2 separate regions of the Homo sapiens genome follow, and region 1 is linked to region 2. The links are contacts of gene promoters, found by promoter capture Hi-C in human tissues and cell types (Jung and others, 2019). All regions are on one chromosome and are shown on one strand. Each heading gives the region's core, a stretch centred on a gene start or on the middle of the fragment in contact. The rest is flanking DNA. Distances are from core to core; before and after follow the strand shown.

Region 1 (3,774 bases), core at 390-2,889, 170 kb before region 2:
TTCCTGAGTTACTTCACTTAGAATAATGGTCTCCAATTCCATCCAAATTGCTGTGAATGCCATTATATTCTTAATCCTACTTTTCTCTCCTACATATGTATCCTTCCCCTGTCAACAGAATCCTTCCTATTTGGCTTTTAAACATGCTCAAATCCCTCCCATCAAAATAAATGAAACAAAACCTTTACTCAATAACTATTCTCTAGTTTCTCCTCATTCCCACCATCTTTTTACCTCTTCACAAACTTCTTTTAGGAGCAGGCCTCTACTGACATTTTCCATTTCATCACTTTTACTCTCTAATCTACTTCAGTCTTGGCACTGAGTCACATCATTCCCCTAACAGCAACTGCTCAAGTCACCAATGATGTACATATGTTGCTAAATCAAACAGATTTCCCATCTTACTTGACCTCTCAGCTGCATTTGATATTCCTGATCTCGCCCCTCTTTGAAACACTGCCATGCCTACGTCCATCAGCTACTAAATGATTCTCAAATGTACTGACTGCACTTATATATGCAGTGGCCTACCGAGCATTTTCTTTTGGATATCTCAAAGGCCTATGTCCAAAATTGAAATAGTGACCTTCCCTACAAATGTGATCTTACTGCAGTCCTTATCTCACTGAATGGCACCACTATCCCAGTGTGCAAACCAGAAACCTAGGAGTCATCCTTGACACCTTCTTTCTCCCATGTCCAATTCATCACCAAAGCATGCAGATTTTGCATCCTAAATATTTCTGGAATTCACCAACTTCTCTCCATCATAACTGCTCTGATTCAAACATTTTTGCCTTGTTTGGAACACAATAGCTTTTTCTTTGGCTTGCTAAGAAAACAAACTTTTCAAAATGCAACTCTCTTTCCATTGCTCTTGAGGTAAAGGGAATCTTACTATGGCTTACAAGAGGCTACTTGGTACAGTCCCTTTTTCTCTTCCCAGATTTATCTATTACTACATTCTCCAAGTTTCCTCATCTTACCCTCCAGATGATAAAGTCTAAAAAGACAAAGTTTATGCTCATCATTATATCTTCAGTGTTTAAAACAGTGTCTGGCACATGATAGGTGCTCAATAAATATTTATTAAATGAATGTACAAATGAATGAATCTACGTACTAAAAAAAACAGTCAGTAAAACATCAAAACATTGACACAATATTTCTGATTAGTAAGATTATTGTGATTTATATTTCTTCTTTATACTTATCTTTATGGTATACTTTCTAAAGCCAAAGTATAAAATTGGTTTTTAAGTACTGGTGCTAGGTTCCATTTTACTAGCCTAGTTAACTGAAAGCTGATTATATTTTGAAAAAATACTGCTTAAGTGCTCAATAATTATCTGTTGAACAGAAAATAAGTTAATATTTTAAGGACTTTGGTAAGATAGCCATCCTAATAACATTAATTGTACTATTTGGCCACAAGATGTCAGTAGAGTAAGAAATAATTTTCCCAGTAATTAAAACTTATGAAGATTATGTCTTTCTGAGTTCATGACGATTAAACAGCAATAAATCTGTCACCATATTTCAGGAATGATGCCAGATTAATTCATTTAAAAGCTTCTTCTTTCCTTCTTTTAGTTAAGATGGTCATAAGGCTACATACTCTTGTCCCAAAAGCTCCTTAAGCTGATAAACAACTTCAGCAAAGTCTCAGGATACAAAATTAATGTACAAAAATCACTAACATTCCTATACACCAACAACAGTTAAGCCAAGAGCCAAATCAGGAATGCAATCCCATTCACAACTGGCACAAAAAGAATAAAATACCTAGGAATACAGCTAACCAGGGAAGTGAAAGATCTCTACAAGGAGAACTACAATACACTGCTCAAAGAAATCAGAGATGATACAAACAAATGGAAAAACATTCCATGCTCATGGACAGGAAGAATCAATATTGTTAAAATAGCCATACTGCCCAAATCAATGTATAGATTCAATGCTATTCTTATTAAACTACCAATGATATTCTTCATAGAACTAAAAAAAACTATTTTAAAAATCATATTGAACCAAAAAAGAACCTGAATACCCAAGGCAATCTTAAGCAAAAAGAACAAAGCAGGAGGCATCATGTTACCTGACTGCAAACTATATTACAGGGCTACAGTAACCAAAACAGCATGGTACTGGTACAAAAATGGAACAGAACAGAGAGCCCAGAAATAAGGCCACATATCTACAACCATCTGATCTTTGAAAAAGCTGACCAAAGCAAACAATGGGGAAGGACTCCCTATTCAACAAATGGTGCTGGGATAACGGTCTAGCCATACTCAGAAGATGGAAAACAGACACTTTCCTTACACTATATAAAAAAATTAACTCAAGATGGATTAAAGAATTAAATATAAACCCAAAACTATAAAAACCCTGGAAGAAAATCTAGGCAGTACCATTCTGGACATAGGAATGGGCAAAGATTTCATGACAAAGGTGCCAAAAGAAGTTGCAACAAAAGCAAAAATTGACAAATAGGATCTAATTAAACTACAAAGCTTCTGCACAGCAAAAGAAACTATCAACAGTGTGAACAGAGAGCTTATAGAATGGGAGAAAATTTTTCGGACTATGCATCTGACCAAGGTCTCATATCCAGCATCTATAAGGGACTTAAACATATTTACAAGATAAAAATAATCTCATTAAGAAGTGGGCAAAGGACATGAACAGACACTTTTCAAAAGACATAGACATACACGCGGCCAACAAGCATATGAAAAAAAGCCCAATATCACTGATCATTAGAGAAATGCAAATCAAAACCACAATGAGATACCATCTCACACCGGTTAGAATGGCTCTTACTAAAAAGTCAAAAAATAATAGGTGTTGACAAAGTTGCAGAGAAAAAGGAACATTTACACACTGTTGGTAGGAGTGTAAACTAGTTCAACCAATGTGGAAAACAGTGTGGTAATTCCTCAAAGACCTAAAAACAGAAATACTACTGAACCCAGCAATCCCATTACTGGGTATATCCCAAAGGAACATAAATCATTCCACCAAAAAGACACATGCATGTGTATGTTCACTGCAGCACTATTAACAATAGCCAAGACATGGAATCATCCTAAATGCCCATTGACGCTAGACTGGATAAAGAAAATGGGGTACATATACACTATGGAATACTATGCAGCCATAAAAAAGAACAAGATCATGTCCTTTGTAGGAACACAGATGGAGCTGGAGGTCATTATCCTTAGCAAACTAATGCAGAAACAAAACCACACACCACATGCTCTCACTTATGTGACGAAAACACAGGGACAGAAAGAGAACAACAGAAACTGCAAACTATCCACGAGTGGAAGGTGAAAGGAGGGAGAGGATCAGGAGAAATAACTGATGGGTATTAAGGTTAATACCTGGGTGACGAAATAAAAATCTGTACCACAAACTCCCATGACACAAGTTTACCTATGTAACAAACCTGCATATGTACCCTTGAGCTTAAGCTAAAAGTTTAAAATAAGATTGAATTAAAAAAAAAAAGATTCAAATGAAGTCAAAGCTGTGGTAGTAATAAGTAAAGAACATAGAAAGTGACCAAAGCCCTTTCTGTAGAAAATCATAGTTTAAATATACCTAATTTAAGAAAATATCTTTATATGGGTCGTACCCAGACAAAGTTGATATAAACATCAGGACTGTATATTATGTATTGGAAGTCCAAGGTATACCAACTTAAACAAATGCAATCTTATATCTCCATGTATTTAGTGAGACAGTTTTTTTCCTTTGAGATTA
Region 2 (3,772 bases), core at 1,273-3,772:
CAACAAAAAAATTCTCTCTAACAGGTGGGGTGTGCCTGTAGTCCTAGCTACTCTTACTTCATCAATGTTAAACTACCTAAATTTGAGCCAGGCCCAGTGGCTCATACCTGTAATCCCAGCACTTTCGGAGGCCAAGGCAAGTGGATAGCTTGAGCCTAGCAGTTGGAGACCACCGTGGGCAACATGGCAAAACCCCATCTCTAACAACAAAAAAATTCTCTCTAACAGGTGGGGTGTGCCTGTAGTCCTAGCTACTCGGGATGCTGAGGTGGGAGCCTCACTTGAGCCCGGGAGGTGGTTGCAATGAGCCGAGATCGCACCACTGCACTCCAGCCTGGGTAACAGAGTGAGACCTTGTCTCAAAAAACAAACAACCTCAACTGGAACATTTTTCTGTGAGTATAAAAGAGAATATCATTGTCTTTGGAGACACATGCTACAACTTACTCCTAAATGGTTCAGAAAAAAATATATATCTATAGTATACATATTTTATATATATAATCTCTCCTACACACTAATATAGCAAATATAGCAAACTGTGAACTTATGTGAAGGGTATACAGGAGTTCATTAATTCTGAAACTTTTTGATAAGGTTGATTTTTTCAAAATAAGTCAAAAAATTTTTTTATTTGAAAACACACTATAAACAGGGAGAAGATATCTGCAACACCTACAATTAACAAAAGAATGTTTCATTATATATACATATATACATTATATATACATTTATATATGTACACACACACACATCCTTAGAAGAGGAAGAGAAAACATGAATGAATAACATATTTCAAAGTGCTCAGCCTTATCAGTAATTACGGAATGCAAATTAAGACAAAAACATGGTATTTATTCTGGGTAGACTAGCAAAAAGTAAGAAGTGTGAAAATAACGAGGATTTAGAGAGAATTGTGGTCGGTACTGGTGGCAGTATAGATTGGTACAACCACTTTGAAAACATTTCTGCTTTATCTTTGAAAGCTGAACAGCCCCCATAGCCTCTGATGCCGCAGTGCTAATCCTAGGTTCAAATTAGAGTCCAGCGCATGCACAGAAGGTGAACAAGAATGCTCCTACTAGCCTTATTAGTAATTACTAGGGGCAGATTCAGGTTTTATGGGGTATGAGCTTATATAATTGGAAAAGAGGAGGCTTTTAAAGAAAAAGATTCAGAATGATGAATACAAATTAGGTTCAAAAGTGACTAATTTTTATAATGGCAAAAGAAATTACAACAATTAGAAATGTCACAAAACCCAGGAAAAGAGTTCTGTTATAGGTATGTGACCTACGAACTTGGGAAGTCTGATACATTTAGTCTGTGTGGTTCCCATCAATAAAGAAAATACTTAAAGTGCATTTATAATCCTATCCGCTACAGTATTGAATACATTCCTGACAGGAGAAAACTTCCTTTTGACTAGGCAGTAAGAAATAAATGTTCTGTTACTACACGTAACAACTTGGATGAACCAAAAAAACAAATGTTGAGTGATAAAAAGCGAATTCCAGGCTATATGTATTTTTATAAAGCTCAAAAAGAAGAAAAATACACCAATACACAGGAATGCATCCAAATATGATAAAACCACTAAAAATGGCAAAGAGGGACAAAACTGAAGATAGTGGTGGTGAGCTAAGAGGCCAGGAGTAGAATCCTGGAGATGCATAGATACATGCTAAATACTGATAACGTGGTGGAGTGATAGTTTCATTAGCATACTTTAAATTTTACATATTTGGTAAATATGCTCTTTTGAATGCATCGACTATTACACTGAAAATATTTTTAAATACTTAAGGCACCTGAATATAAGCTGGCTTCCCTCCTTCCTCTCCCGTGCTGTCTCCTCTCCCCCATCACTTCTCAACTACAAGCTGCTTGGGACACGTGGCTCCAGAGGTTGGCAAAACAGGGAAATGTCAGCCCACAAGGAACAAGAACCGTGACTTGTGTTATTTTCTTGTTGGTGTTGGGGTGGGGGGAGGGGTGCGGTGGTGCAGGAAATATTATCCAGCTTATCATATATGCCACATCAAGCTGACTCCGTTTAAATTTTGAGTGGCTCTACTAGCTAAAGCCAGAAAAGGGTTTTTGGGCCCAACGGGCAGAAGTGCCCCTCCCTTTTACACTCACACTTCCCACTTTCTAAGGGTGCCAGGCCCCCGCGCCGCCCTCCTGCTTCTTTCCGGACGGTCCAACTCTTTTCCACCAGTCCCAGCCCATTCGATTACGTAAATTCTTCCAAGAGGATTCCCAAACGTGCCCCTCCGTCCAGAACTCGCCCAGCCCGGACCAGTTCCGAGATTTACCACCAGCCCAGAGCTGGGCGGGGGCGTGGAAAACGCGAGGAGCCTTCCCGCCCCTCTCCTTCTCCCTCCCTCCCTCCCAAGCCACTGCCGGCTCCCAGCCGAGCTCCGCCCCCGCGGTGGCCCCGCCTCCCCGCCGCCCGGAAAGCGGGCTGCGGCCCCCTCCCAAAACCCGGGGAAGTGGATTCTACTCTACGCTCCGCTCCGCTCCGCTCCGCACCACCAACCCCGGGCCGCAGTCCTGACGAGCGGGTCAGGGCTTGTCGGGCGGAAGCCTGGCCTGGAGCCTGGAAGGGGGAGACGGCCCGAGCGGGAGCGGGAGCGGACGCGGCCTCAGTCCTGCGCGGGTGAGCGTGCCCCGGAAGCTTGGGCCCCTGGCCGCCCTGGTGCCCCTTCTCCGGGACCTGGGGCGCTAGGCCGCGGCGGCAGAACTGGTGCCCCTGCGCGGCCTTCCTCCCATCCTTACAGTTCCCCGTGTCCCAGGCCTCTACCCGGAACCGGAGCCCCGCCCGTCTCCTAGCAGCTCCGTGACGTGAAGCGCCTCGGGGTGCGGTGCCGCCGGGCGTGGGTGGGAGGCAACGCCCGAGGGGAGGGCCCGCCAGTGCACGGGGGTGCGGGGCGCGTTGGCGAGAATTGGAGGCCGCGCCGCCGCCAGCCGTCCGCCGTCCCGCCCAGCAGGAGCACGTTCCCTTTCGCCATTGGAAGACTGAGTTCCAAGCTTTTTCCTGCTCACCTAGAGCCGTCCCTGCCCCGCCCGCCACCCCCTGTACATTTTCGGAGATTTAGGATAGTAATTCTAGACCCTCGGTTGCATTTCTGTTGGAATTTTTCTGGAAGTTGGAATCTGGCAGTTTAAACAAAGAATTTTTTTAAGAAAAATATTTATTAGTATATTTGATAGTCCCCAGATTAGGTTAAAAGCCTTATTCCCAATAACTGTAATTTTGCAAAGACATGTTTTTGGTGTAAAAAGGTATAGATATGGGTTGATGAAAAGAATCAAACTCTGAAAAATATTTGAAGAGATTTATTTTGAGCCAGATTCAAGTGACCATGGCCAGTGACAGTCCTCAGGAGGTCCTGAGAACATGTGCCCAAGGAAATTGGGGTACAGCTTGGTTTTATCTATTTTAGGAAGGCGTGAGACATCAAATACATTTAAGAAATACATTGGTTTAGTTTAGAAAGGCGGGGCAACTCAATCGGTAAATGTAAACGTTATCTGGTTGAGGTTATCTAAAGACCTGGGATCCATAAAAAGGAATGTTCAGGCTAGAGATAAAGGATTGTGGAGACCAAGTTTTATTGTGCAGAGGAAGCTCTTAGATAGACTTTAGAGAGAGCAGGTTGTAAATTGTTTTATATTGGACTTAAAAGGGTGCCTGGCTCTTAGTTGATTATCTCCTGGATCTGGGAAGGAAGGAGGGAAAACAAGGGGAGATGGGAATTCTCACCAA

Evidence for each region. The method cuts DNA at HindIII sites, captures the fragments that hold promoters and counts their contacts. A contact is called where the count stands out against the background at its distance.
Region 1: a fragment that was not itself captured here is called in contact with the fragment with the promoter of DDX59 in region 2 in 1 of the 25 tissues and cell types used here (mesendoderm cells).

The regions. Positions count from the first base shown.
Region 1 is chr1:200,835,827-200,839,600 of GRCh38, reverse strand. The region is part of intron 6 of CAMSAP2 (calmodulin regulated spectrin associated protein family member 2); the gene reads right to left. Among named protein-coding and RNA genes, the nearest start is that of GPR25, 35 kb to the left of the region's middle. The HindIII fragment of the contact is 5,148 bases long and covers 1-3,774 here.
Region 2 is chr1:200,668,657-200,672,428 of GRCh38, reverse strand. DDX59 (DEAD-box helicase 59) reads left to right here and starts at 2,522. Exons shown (of 8, transcript NM_001031725.6): 1 at 2,522-2,662. It overlaps DDX59-AS1 (DDX59 antisense RNA 1), which reads right to left and starts at 2,922. Exons shown (of 3, transcript NR_110787.1): 1 at 2,807-2,922. RefSeq lists a silencer at 2,369-3,108. The HindIII fragment of the contact is 3,952 bases long and covers 1-2,857 here.